Regions from separate parts of the Homo sapiens genome. Here region 1 is linked to region 2. Evidence: promoter capture Hi-C in human tissues and cell types (Jung and others, 2019). All regions are on one chromosome and are shown on one strand. Each heading gives the region's core, a stretch centred on a gene start or on the middle of the fragment in contact. The rest is flanking DNA. Distances are from core to core; before and after follow the strand shown.

Region 1 (7,107 bases), core at 3,800-6,299, 140 kb before region 2:
AAGGCCTAGCCATAAAGCCACTGCTCATCTGTGCCCAACGACAGACAGGTAAATTGCAGTGCTATGCGAAGTGCTACAAATTCCTAAATATCTCAAATTCTCCCCTTCATCTCCAATTCTTATTACCACTGCCTCATTTCAAGCCCTCAGCATTTTTTCACTTAAATTACTTCGGAAACCTCTAAAAGAGTCTTCAACCTCTTCCAGGCCAATTCTTCTTCCATTCCCTGCCAGTTACCTTCCTAAAATCCAACTATGGCTGTGTCACTTGCTTGAAGCCCATCAAGCTTTCCCATCTTCTACAGGGGTACATTTAAGCTGCTTAGCATGGTGTACCAGGCCCAAAAAATTTGGACCTAGTTTCAACAGTCTCTCTTCTGACAGTCCCTCTCTTGAAAGCCACAGCCCCAATCATGCTGAAAGACTTTGTGCTGCCTTGTCTCTATGCTTTTGCAAATATTTTCTCTGCCTGGTATTCTCCTCCAATTCACTTTCGAACAGTTGGTTCAGATCTTGCTTTCTCTAGGAAACCTAGGAACACATTTCCAACTCTCCTTTCCTCAGGTAGGGTCTATTCTAGAGCTTTTTTACAGCAGCCAGGGCACCACTGTTTTGAGCAACTCATGTCACAGGGCTACCATTATTATTATTATTTTAGAGATGAGGTCACACTATGTTGCCCAGGCTGGTTTTGAACTCAGAGCTCAAGTGATCTTCCTGCCTTGGCTTCCCAAAGTGCTAGGATTACAGGCATGAGCATGGTCTCATTATTTATTTACAGATTTTCTCTCCTGTTAGATTGTGAAACTCTGAGAAACAGGAACCTTGCACCTGGCATAATTCTGGACACATAGTGGACATTCAGTAAATGCTTGTTGAATGAATTAATAATCTAGGAAAATGTTCCAGGAGGTGGAAGTGAAATCTTTACTTCTCTCTCCCCGACTCCTTCATTGATTGCTCTCCATGTTCTATTCCAGGGAACTTCTCTAAACTATGTCTGGTTATCTGATCTAACCTCCATCTGACCATCCTTCATCCAGCTCCTCTCTAATATTTCCTGACTTTATTTATTTACTCATTCTAGAGTCAGGGTCTTGCTCTGTTGCTCAAGCTGGAGTGCAGTGGTGTGATCATGACCCACTGCAGCCTCAAAGCAATCTTCCCACCTCAGTTTCCTGAGTAGCTGGGACTACAGGTGTGAGCCACCTTGCTCAGCTCCCTGACTTTAATATCGTTATTCTCAGATTATATTATTTCTCTTTCAATTGACCTTTCTGACCACTTCTCAATTCCTTCTGTAAAGTCTCTAACTCTTTCTCTTTCTCATTTTCTTTTTTTCTTTTCTTTTCTTTTTTTTTTTTTTTTTTTTTTGAGATAGAGTCTCACTCTGTCGCCCAAGCTGGAGTGCAGTGGCACGATCACGGGTCACTACAGCCTCAACCTCCCCAGGCTCAGGTGATCCTCCCACCTCAGCCTCCCGAGTAGCTGGGACTACAGGTGGGAGACACCATGAATGGCTAATTTTTATTTTTTATTTTATTTTATTTTAGACACAGTCTCACTCTGTCGCCCAGGCTGGAGTGCAATGGCACCATCTCGGCTCACTGCAACCTCCACCTTCTGGATTCAAGCGATTCTCGTGCCTCAGCCTTCCAAATAGCTGGGATTACAGGCACCTGCCATCACACCCGGCTAATTTTTGTATTTTTAGTAGAGACAGGGTTTCACCAGGTTGGCCAGGCTGGTCTCGAACTCCTGTGCTCAAGTGATCCACCTTCCTGGGCCTCCAAAACTGTTGGGATTACAGGCATGAGCCACCGCGCTTGGCCTAATTTTTGTATTTTTTTTTTTTTTTTTTTTTTTTTTTTTGAGACGGAGTCTCGCTGTCGCCCAGGCTGGAGTGCAGTGGCGCAATCTCGGCTCACTGCAGGCTCCGCCCCCTGGGGTTCACGCCATTCTCCTGCCTCAGCCTCCCGAGTAGCTGGGACTACAGGCGCCCGCCACCTCGCCCGGCTAATTTTTTGTATTTTTAGTAGAGACGGGGTTTCACCGTGTTAGCCAGGATGGTCTCGATCTCCTGACCTCGTGATCCGCCCGCCTTGGCCTCCCAAAGTGCTGGGATTACAGGCGTGAGCCACCGCGCCCGGCCTTGTATTTTTTTAAGAGTCTGGGTTTTGCCCTGTTGCCCAGGCTGTCTCAAACTCCTATGCTTAAGTGATCCACCCACGTTGGCCTCCCAAAGTGTTGGTATTACAGGCGTGAGCCACCTCGCCCAGCCTTCCTGTTCTTTTTTAAGATTTAGTAAACTGGCCAAGCGCCGTGGCTGATGCTTGTAATCCCAGCACTTTGGGAGGCCGATGGGGGAGGATTGCTTGAGCTCAGGGGTTCAAGACTAGCCTGGGTAACAAAGTGAGGCACTATCTCTACAAGAAAAAAAAAAATAGCTGGGCGTGGTGATGCGCGCTTTTTTTTTTTTTTTTTTTTTTTTTTGAGACAGAGTCTCGCTCTGTCACCCAGGCTGCAGTGCAATGGCCCGATCTCGGCTCACTGCAACCTCCGCCTCCCGGGTTCAAGCGATTCTCCTACCTCAGCCTCCTGAGTAGCTGGGATTACAGGCGCCCGCCACCATGCCCGGCTAATTTTTGTATTTTTAGTAGAGACGGGATTTCACCATGTTGATCAGGCTAATCTCGAACTCCTGACCTCGTGATCCGCCCGCCTCGGCTTCCCAAAGTGTTGGGATTATAGGCGAGAGCCACCGCGCCCGGCCCTAGTAAACTTGTATTTCTCACACATTATGTAAGCCACCTTAGGATACAGTTCTCAAGTAAGTCCCCCTTTTCGGCACCCGATTCTCCAACCCTCCATTGCTCAAACCTTTCCTCCATGGCTGTGTCCCCACCCCGAGTCGTGCATAACTTTTGTTGATGACAAAAGGTGGCAGACTTTTGTCCTGGGGATAGGTAGGTGAAGTGTTTTAAGAAATGGTTATTTTCAGGCTATGCAGAAGAATGAGACTTCACCATCAAGCCTCACTACAGTCAGGCTTGCAGAGCAGCGACACTGTATTGACAATGACAATCCTTTCTTTTAAACTCCAAACCTAACTAAGCCACACGTCTCCATGCAAAGGGTAAAAGATTGAAGACGGAGTGGGAAAGGACAGGAGGCGGGGCATAGCGGGCCTGGAAGGCTTCCAGCTTGTCCCTGTGGACCCTCCTCGCCCCTATGAACTTCCGCCCCCAGTACCTCCGAGGCTCTGACAGGCGGATGCCTGCCAACTACGTGAGCACGTGGTGGCGCGCGCGGTCCTGGGGGCGGAGCCCAGGGGGTAGCTGGGAAGCGACGCAGGACGTCGGTCCGTGCGTACGTGCTCGCTCACGGCGGCGGCGGCGGAGCGGAGAGGCCAGAGCCGGAGACCGAGCTGGGATCGGGCCCCGGGCGGGGGCGGTGCGAGCGGCGCCAAGCAGATCTTAGGGGCGGGGACGGAGCCGGGGCGGGCGGGACTGAAGCGGAGCCCGGGAACGGGGCGGGAGGTCCCAGGGTCCCGGGTTGGGGGGGTGGAGCAGCATTTCGTCGCCGCGGGGGTGCCGGGACTCCGGCCGCAGTGTCGCCGCCATCACGGACTTCCTGTGGGACAAGCGCACGGGCCTCGCCGCCAGAACGGTGAGCGCGCGGGTTGGCTGGCCGCGCGAAAAGATGGCGACCGCGGGGCGGGCGGGGTTAGGCTTGGGTTGGGGGCAAGGGACGGGGGCGAGATTTGGAGAGGAGGAGAGTTGAGACCTACGAAGCGACGGAGTAGGGAGATGAGGGGGAAGGAGGTCGGCCTGCGTTAGATGTACCAAGAAGACCTGTAGGAAGCTTGGGCGGAACCAGACTAGAAGGGATGATAGAGTAAGGATGGGAGTGGTTCCAGAGATGTGAAGGAGTGGAATATCAAAGTTGGACTCGGGTCCAATCAAAGCTGGAGGGGAGGAATACATCACCGTGTCACTTGGAACATGCAGGAAGAATTTGCCTGTAGGAGTTCTGGATTTTCTGAGTAAGAAAGGAAAAAGCAAAAGATTTCAAACTTGAGAAAGGTAGGCTAGTGATGTTTTGAGGGGACAGTGCTGTGAGGCCGTTTGATGGTAGTATGTGGTGAGATGGCATTTATGTGGCTATGCTGATTAGGATAACTATGCTGGGAAAATCTTGTGCTTGCAGCTTGGTATGCTACCGGCCCCAGTTACACCAAGAATGCATCAAATACCACCCTCCTCAATTTGGGGAGGTTGGGAAGAAGTGATACAGAATGGTGGTCAGACATCGGAATCATTAAACCTTTTGCATACGCGATTCTCATACACCCCCACCAAGACTTATGTCCCTGGGCCTGTTTCATTTTATTGTGCCTTCCTATTCTCATCTTCCTGGATTGTGACAGTGATTTTTCTCTTTTTTCCTTGAAGGAAAAAAAGGATTTGTGAACCATCCCATTCCAATTCCATTAACTGGAAGGTGGCCAGCTGTCAGCTAAGTAGGGCTGATATTAATTAAAAACCACTTACTGGCCAGGCGCGGTGGCTCACATCTGTAATCCCAGCACTTTGGGAGGCCAAGGCGGGCGGATCACCTGAGGTTGGGAGTTCGAGACCAGCCTGACCAACATGGAGAAACCCTGTCTCTACTAAAAATACAAAATTAGCTGGGCGTGGCGGCGCATGCCTGTAATCCCAGCTACTCGGGAGGCTGAGGCAGGAGAATCGCTTGAACCCTGCAGGCGGAGGTTATGGTGAGCCGAGATTGCGCCATTGCACTCCAGCCTGGGCAACAAGAGCAAAACTCCGTTTCAAAAAAAAAAAAAAAAACACAAGAAACAGTTGTTATCTACGTCTTAAGCACAAGAGTGGAGGGGCCAGATGGGATGCTGACTGTATTTTGTGGCCTACTACATTAAAACCTCTCAAGGGAGAGTTGGCCAAAGATGTGAGAGATGATTAAGTTAATTCAAGGGGCCCGACCCAGATCCCTGGAGCTGATAGTATTTGGCGTTTACCTGGTATATGTAGAAACCTGGGAGACTGGATTCCTACCCTCAGGACACTGATAGTCTACTTGAGGAGATGAGATGTACTCTTAATGAGTGTACAACATTTATCATAACTGTAAACCAAAGCTTTACTCTATTGACTTGTGAGGAACTCAGCATCACACAGATCTATATCTTAGATCCTGAACGGGGATACACTGTGGCAGTCTCCATCGGTCGTCATACACTTTGCTCTGTAGTGAACTGTGTCCTAGACCTGAAGGTCTTCATGGAGCTGTGTTTGAAGAAAATAAGGATAGAACACTTGAACTGGCTGGGTGCGGTGGCTCACGCCTGTAATCCCAGCACTTTGGGAGGCCGAGGCAGGAGGATCACGAGGTCAGGAGTTTGAGACCATCCTGGCCAACATGGTGAAACCCCGTCTCTACTAAAAATATAAAAATTAGCCAGGAGTGGTGGTGCGTGCCTGTAATCCCAGCTACACAGGAGGCTGAGGCAGGAGAGTTGCTTGAACCTGGGAAGTGGAGGTTGCAGTGAGCCGAGATTGTGCCACTGCACTCCAGCCTGGCCACACAGCGAGACTCTGTCTCAAGAATAAAATAAGAACACTTGAACTGAGGGGTGGGTAATGAGGGATGGGTTTGGGGGCTTTCTAGAGTTTCAGCCAGAGTTAGTAGGTGGCTGTACTCCAATAAGGAGGAATTGTAAGTACAGAGGAAGACTGAGGAAGTTGTGCCTGGTAAAAAGAGGCAGAAATAAGAGGGGAAAGCAGCTTAGCATCTTTGGAGCAGCCAGTCCTTGGAGGAGATTTCTGAAAACTCGAAACTTTCCTATTTCCGCTTTCCCTTGCCTTCCAGATGCCGCATCCTCGAAGGTACCACTCCTCAGAGCGAGGCAGCCGGGGGAGTTACCGTGAACACTATCGGAGCCGAAAGCATAAGCGACGAAGAAGTCGCTCCTGGTCAAGTAGTAGTGACCGGACACGACGGCGTCGGCGAGAGGACAGCTACCATGTCCGTTCTCGAAGGTGAGGCCTCAGGAAGAGATACTCAAACACAGGGTCACTCGCTCATTCCTTTGTTCAACAAATACTTATTGGTTATATGCTAAAACCATTGCCTTAAGTAGCTGGCTGAAGGTAATGTCGGGATAGATAACCAAAGAAGCCATTTGGGCTGCAGTGTTAAGTGTTAGAATACATAATGAGGAACTGAGGACGTACCCAGTGCGTTTGGTTGGAGTGGGGCAGGATGTTAATTCAGATAAAACATTGCAGAGAAAGCAACATCTGTATATGTCTGGAGGACAAGTAGAGTCAGGTGGGGGAAGTGTCTTTGGGCAGAGGGAAAGCATGTGCAAAGGACTGGGAGCTACAGGTAACTAATAAGCTAACAGATAAGACAAAGTTAGATCTTTGTGTTTTTAATTTTTTAAAAATTTTAAAATATCATTTATTTATTTTTGAGACAGAGTTTCACTCTGTTGCCCAGGCTGGAGTGCAGTGGCAAGATCTCAGCTCACTGCAAACTCTATGGCCCCAGGTTCAAGCGATTCTTGTGCCTCAGCCTCCCAAGTACCTGGGACTACAGGCATGCGCCATCATGCCTGGCTAATTTTTTTTTTTTTTTTTTGTATTTTTAGTAGAGACAGGATTTCACCATGTTGGCCTCAAACTCCTGACCTCAAGTGCTCCACCTGCCTTGGCCTCCCAAAGTGCTGGGATTACAGGCGTGAGCCACTGTGCCCGGCCCAGTTTTAATATTTTAGTGGTATGTTCAGTGGAAAGAATGGGTTAAGGATGGTTTAGAGCAAGGGGGGATTTCATTCAGGAAAGCTTGAGAAAAAAATGGCTCTTTGTTTCTTTGTATCACTGCAGCGGGAAAAAGGCCCCAATAGGGAGTGGTTCTGCAGATGCCTTTTCAGAGGTTTTGGTGACATGGCAGATGTGCTTGTTACCTCACTTCTCTGGTCCCTTGGTCCTCTCAGTGACTCAACAAGTGTCTGAGAACAGTTTTCTAGCATTACTCTTTGTCCTCACTAAGGCAGGACCTTGTCACAGGGTATGGTAGGGA
Region 2 (6,175 bases), core at 3,145-5,644:
TGACCATGACGAAATTAGCGCAGTGGCTTTGGGGACTAGCGATCCTGGGCTCCACCTGGGTGGCCCTGACCACGGGAGCCTTGGGCCTGGAGCTGCCCTTGTCCTGCCAGGAAGTCCTGTGGCCACTGCCCGCCTACTTGCTGGTGTCCGCCGGCTGCTATGCCCTGGGCACTGTGGGCTATCGTGTGGCCACTTTTCATGACTGCGAGGACGCCGCACGCGAGCTGCAGAGCCAGATACAGGAGGCCCGAGCCGACTTAGCCCGCAGGGGGCTGCGCTTCTGACAGCCTAACCCCATTCCTGTGCGGACAGCCCTTCCTCCCATTTCCCATTAAAGAGCCAGTTTATTTTCTAACTTCGTTTAGTTTGAGTATGGAAAACGGGTATTGGGGATTCTATGTACTAACGGTCGAGAAGTGAATGTGAAAGAACCACCTTCTTGAGGCCATCTCAGCCTTTATCTTTGCATCTTGCTGGTGTTCCCATTTTTGCTCCCAAGGAGGCAAAGACCCCTTCTCAATATTTCTCAGGATGGAAATGACATTTCACTTTCCTGGTCCTTTCAACCCTGTAGGAAGTACTTCTTTTTTTTTTTTTTTGAGACGGAGCCTTGCTCTGTCGTCCAGGCTGGAGTGCAGTGGCGTGATCTCGGCTCACTGCAAGCTCCGCCTCCCGGGTTCACGCCATTCTCCTGCCTCAGCCTCCTGAGTAGCTGGGACTACAGGCGCCTGCCACCACGCCTGGCTAATTTTTTGTATTTTTAGTAGAGTCGGGGTTTCACCGTGTTGGCCAGGATGGTCTGATCTCCTGACCTCGTAATCCGCCCGCCTCGGCCTCCCAAAGTGCTGGGATTACAGGTGTGAGTCACCGCGCCCGGCGTACTACTTCTTTTTTTTTTTTTTTTTGAGACAGGGTCTCACTCTGTTGCCCAGGCTGGAGTGCAGTGGTGCAATCATGGCTCACTGCAGCCTCACCCTCCCAGGCTCAAACAGTTCTCCCACCTCAGCCTCCAGAGTAGCTGGGACTACAGGCATATGCCACCACGCCACCAGGCTAATGTTTAATTTTTTGTAGTGACAGGGTCTCGCTGTGTTGCTCAGGCTGTTCTCAAACTCCTGGGCTCAAGTGATCCTCCTGCCTGGGCCTCCCAAAGTGCTGTGATTACAGACATAAGCCACCTTACCCGGCCAGAAGTACTTTCTTGAAGCCTAAGTTCCATTCTTCATAACATCCAAGTTTTGTTATTTTTAAGGCCTTCCTGGGTCTTTCCAACCTTTTGGTTCTTTGAGATACCTTTTCTGAGCCTACCCTACCAACCTGAGAATAACTGTGGATCTATCCTTCACCAAACCAGGCAGGTTTAGAATTATGAGTAGAGAATGAACCATCGTGGGCAGGGGTGGGGAACACTTTATTTTAAGGCATATTCATATCAGCATATAAGGCATATTCATATCACAATGGCACGATCTCAGCTCACTGCAACCTCCACCTCCTGGGTTCAAGCAATTCTCCTGCCTCAGCCTCCCAAGTATCTGGGATTACAGGCATGTGCCATCATGCCTGGCTAATTTTGTATTTTTAGTAGAGATGGGGTTTCACCATGTTAGTCAGGTTGGTCTTGAACTCCTGACCTCAGGCGATCCGCCCACCTTGGCCTCCCAAAGTGCTGGGATTACAGGCGTGAGCCACCGCGCCCGGCCTTTTAAGGCATATTCTAAAGATTGCACCCCAACCTCCAAAATTAAAAAAAAAAATCTCTAAAAAATAAAAAGTGATTTCATCTCCTAGGCCCCAATCAATCATCTAAGTAAAGCTTTTTCTTTGGTCCTTTTATCCTCAAAGTCATCTCTTGTTCCCACAACCCACTGCACCTGGGAAGCTGGACAGCAGGCCCAGCTGAAACAAGGAGGTCTCTTTGGTTCAGGTTGGCACTAAGGTGCCCAGTGGTCAGATGAGCAGCCTCAGGTTTGCAGGAGCCAGTAGTTCCTGTCTTGCTCCTGGGGGTACTTCCAGAAAAGCCAGAAGCGGATAAAGCTGGTGACGATTCCTGGAAAGTTGGACACCTGAAATCACAAGAACTGCTATGAGGAGAGGAGCCAGTTTTCCATCTTGCACCCCTGTCACCCCATCCCAGTTGTGCTTACCATGATATAGGGATCTCTGAGTCGAAACCCATAGAGGCACCAGGAGGCAGAGGTGAGAAGGGTAGCAATGGTGAGTGGGTAGGAGAGACATTGGGTTGATTTAGTTTGAATCACCTTAGCCTGTGGGAAAGAATGGAAGACTCTCTTGGCCCAAGCACATCGTAAAGCTTCACTTGCCTAAGAATTTCCTCAAGAAAAAGGTCAGACACCCTCCCTGATCTGTCACCCAACCTTTCCTGCCTCCCACTCGCCCACTTCTACTGCCTTGTCTTCTTCCAGGGTTTGGATCTCCCCTTCCTCGGGACTGTAAGCCATAGTATTTGGCTATGAGAGCCTGACTCTTATCTCTCCTACCTCCTTGGACACCCCCACTCACCAAGTCAGCCAGTGGTGAGAGGTACATGCTGATGGTGAAGACACTGCAGAAGAGGCCCAACTGCTGAAGCCGGGCCTCAGGGTTGGGTACCAGGAGCCAAAAGTAGCCATAACCCAGGAGAAGGACCCCTAGCAGGGTTGCAGTCTGTAGGAGCACAACACGCTGCAGGGGAGAGAGTACCCTTACTTCCAGATGTGCACTCTGACTTCCCTGCTAGAGTTAATTCATCCTGCCTTCTCCAGTGCTCCAATGGGGAAGCCAAGCTGTCTAGGCCTCCAGCACTGCACTGTCACAGCTTCTTTCCCACCACCAACTTGATAGGAAAGTCTTATCCACCCACAACACTGGAGACTTCTGGGGGAGATAAATATGTGTTTTTTTCTGTGTGCTTGGCACACACAGTAGGAGCTTCATAAATGCTTGTGTGATTTAGCAGGGACGCAGAGCTAATCATCTCATTCTCACCCACAGGCCCTGGCTCTGAAAGAAATATCAGAGACAAAAGCCCTTTCCCCTTAGCTTGTTGGCTGAAGCCCAGGGCAGGCAGCATAGGCATCTCAGGCTAGGCAGAGCTACCAGCCTTGCCTAAATGGGGGCAATGTGTTCATCTCAGAAGGCTGGCTTCATAGAGGAAGGGGACCTGCAAGGCTGGAGAGGCCTTCCTGGAAAAGGTGGCAGTGCCAGCTGTTACAGTCTTCTAGGAAATAGTGTTTGCCCTGCCAGCAAGGCAGGGCGTGCAGCAGATAGGTGGGTCCAAGGGAGGGCCTCTACCTTCCGAGGGCAGTAATGCAGATATGCCAAGATATACAGGGTCTGAAGCGCAGCACCCACTGTGTTGACGACGATGAGGATCCCGTCTCCCTTCAAAGCCCCATAACTCAGCCAGCCCAGGTTGCTGCAGGGTGGAGGGGATGGACATGGCTCAAAGGGTTCAGTGTGAGAGGAGGACCCAAAGGGTCTTTCACTCTTTTTTTTTTTTTGAGACGTAGTCTCGCTCTGTCGCCCAGGCTGGAGTGCGGTGGCACGATCTCGGCTCACTGCAAGCTCCGCCTCCTGGGTTCACGCCATTCTCCTGCCTCAGCCTCCCGAGTAGCTGGGACTACAGGCGCCCGGCACCACGCCCGGCTAATTTTTTGTATTTTTAGTAGAGACGGGGTTTCACCGTGTTAGCCAGGATGGTCTGGATCTCCTGACCTCGTGATCCGCCCGTCTCGGCCTCCCAAAGTGCAGGGATTACAGGCGTGAGCCACCGCGCCCGGCCAAACCTCTTTCACTCTTGCTCCTCCTGCCCCGCCCCCACCTCCCTCTGGTAGCCTTTCCCACTACCGCAGCCGTCGGCCCCTCACTTGACTTCCGTGGTGAGAAAGGGCAGGAACTGGACGTTGTCCACACTCCGGGTCATTCGCATGTGCCTGAGGTCCGAGCTGTAATGGGGCCCCGAAGGGAGGGGTGGGGGTGGGAAGGGAGAAGCAGAGTGCTAGAGGGGGATGCCCAATGCCTGTCATCCTTTCCGGACCACCGCAGACCCCGCCCCCTCTCCCCCCCGCCAGCTATCCTGCCTTCTCCTTCAGGCCTAGTGACCAGCCTCGCCCTTGTACCCCGGTCCCCTCGACCCGATCCCACTTTGATCCCGGTTCCGGACGAGCCAGGTGCTGTGGCCACGTCTCTGTCCCCTCTCTCTCCTTTCCTGACTGCCTAGTCCTCCCCAACCCAGCCCGGCCGCACTCTCACAGGCCGGCGGAGAACATGCCAAGGGTGAAGACCACGCATGCTCCGTAAATGAGCGAGTCCAGAAAGCCGCCCGCCTCCATTACGACTAGAGTCGGATCCCGCGCCCAGCGCCCGCCGCGAGCCTGCGGTTGCCGGGACCTACTGCAGCCCAGACCTGCGGCTCTGGAGCCCCGCCCCGCGCACTCGGCTCCGCCCCCGCACGCTCGGGCCGTCCCTCCGGAAACTGCGCCGAAGCCCCACCCTCCCTCCGACGCCGAACCGGAACTCGCGCCCCTCTCCTCCGAGCGCCTTCCCAGTACCCTGGTCCAGACCTCTTCCATGTCCCGGTCAGTCCCCTTCCTAGGGCTCCGCGGGTGTGTCCCCGATACCTGCCGCTGCTCACACTCTGCCTACCCCTTGGATCATCTAGACGCCCCCAGTCTCAACGCTCGTGTTCCCACAGGCCTGTGCGCCTTCGGCGGTGGACCTCCAAACAAAAGCTTGCTAGTTTAACAAGACTTCAGCACGCTTTCCATCCAGAGCTCCACATCAGAACCTCAGTTGCCCAGGGTTTGGGAAGTTTTTTTCTGGAGTGTGCTGCCGAAGCTTTTTCTCAAAATAACACATTACCAGGAATCACCAAGCCTTCCTCTTTTGCCCTCCCTCTCGGGTCAACTTTACATGACGTGGCCAATCCACTGACGCCTCTATCACTGACCCCCGGTCCAACCCACTTGTTACTGGGAACTTTCCCTCCCAGCCTCCCACACGTCTCTGCTAGTGTGGCTGTGGGGCGGGGCCGCATGCCTCAGCTGGCGTTCCCAGCTTCCCTGACTCACCGAAACAGCGTGAGTACCTGAATGGTAGTATGCCAAAGCCCTGCGGTGACGGAGTGGGAGTGGGGTAGAGGTCGGATAGGAAGAACTTCCAGAGTGGAGTGCAGCTCAGAACCCGAGAGACAGCTGTCAGGAGCACTCCGGTCCTGGACAGCCCTCAGAGGAGGAAACATCCCACCCTTTTGGCCTCGTGAGGGGCACACATTCTTTGGAGAGAAAGAAATTCAAACCCAGTTGCTACTGTTGTAGCACAGAGAGCCTCGCACTTAGCAGGGACTCAATGGTCATATGTTTTAATATGGAGTGGCAGAAAAGCATGTCCGAAAAAACACATTGCTTTATTTTGAGACAAAGAACATTGTATAAAAAAACTCCAGTTGTAGAAATCAGGACAGACACACAGCAACTTATATACAGATACTATACACGTGGGCCCTGCCCTTTAGGCTACACTCTAGGCAGAATGTACACATGGGCACTGCCCTTACAGCTACACTCTAAGAACAGGTTGGCACAGCCCCCCTGCTGGCACAGCTCTGGGGAGTGCTGCCCCAGGATGGGAGAGAATGCAGTACCTGGCTACAAACTTCTCTGTGGCAGCTCCACAGATGAGGTCTTGCTGGGAGATGCTGGGTCAGCCCAAGCATGCTGCCTCTCCTGTACCTGGCTTCCAAGCAAGAAACTGTTTCTTGCTTTTCCTTCAGTCAGTTCATCTGGGCATCCTGGCTCTCTCCTGGAGGGGGCATCTTTGACAAGCTTTGCCCATCCACGTGGCCCCTTCCAGCTCAGCTCCCACTGTGCCTTAAGGGACCATGCCTGCACAGCTTGTTTCTTTGGCTTAAAGGCAGGAATGGTGGGAAAGGACTGTCTCCACTTCTTTCTCCATCCCTCCGAGGTGAAGGTGGGGATGGCACTGTCGGGCTGGTTGGCCTCCTTCCGGTTGAAAACCTTAATACTGACCCGTTTTGAGGCTGCTAGGTGATAGCTTATGCCTGTGGTGGGAGTGGTTCCCAGGGCTGGGGGCTCTGAAAGTGGCCCCAAGACAGGTTTGGAGTGCCTGTCCCTCTCTTCAGCCTGTCCCTCTTTAAGGCCAGGTGTGGCATACA

Evidence for each region. Contacts are between HindIII fragments. The study calls those that stand out against the background at their distance.
Region 1: a fragment that was not itself captured here is called in contact with the fragment with the promoter of SLC50A1 in region 2 in 1 of the 25 tissues and cell types used here (dorsolateral prefrontal cortex).

The regions. Positions count from the first base shown.
Region 1 is chr1:155,269,763-155,276,869 of GRCh38, reverse strand. CLK2 (CDC like kinase 2) reads left to right here and starts at 3,366. Exons shown (of 13, transcript NM_001294338.2): 1 at 3,366-3,669; 2 at 5,893-6,062. The coding sequence starts at 5,893. RefSeq lists an enhancer at 2,273-2,773. The HindIII fragment of the contact is 5,946 bases long and covers 2,077-7,107 here.
Region 2 is chr1:155,134,071-155,140,245 of GRCh38, reverse strand. It overlaps SLC50A1 (solute carrier family 50 member 1), which reads right to left and starts at 4,394. Exons shown (of 6, transcript NM_018845.4): 1 at 4,255-4,394; 2 at 3,870-3,947; 3 at 3,295-3,418; 4 at 2,524-2,685; 5 at 2,148-2,267; 6 at 1,393-2,066. The coding sequence starts at 4,334. The coding sequence ends at 1,965. EFNA1 (ephrin A1) reads right to left here. Exons shown (of 5, transcript NM_004428.3): 5 at 5,347-6,175. DPM3 (dolichyl-phosphate mannosyltransferase subunit 3, regulatory) reads left to right here. Exons shown (of 2, transcript NM_153741.2): 2 at 1-355. The coding sequence starts at 6. The coding sequence ends at 284. RefSeq lists a silencer at 4,354-4,593 and an enhancer at 4,864-4,953. The HindIII fragment of the contact is 5,011 bases long and covers 3,525-6,175 here.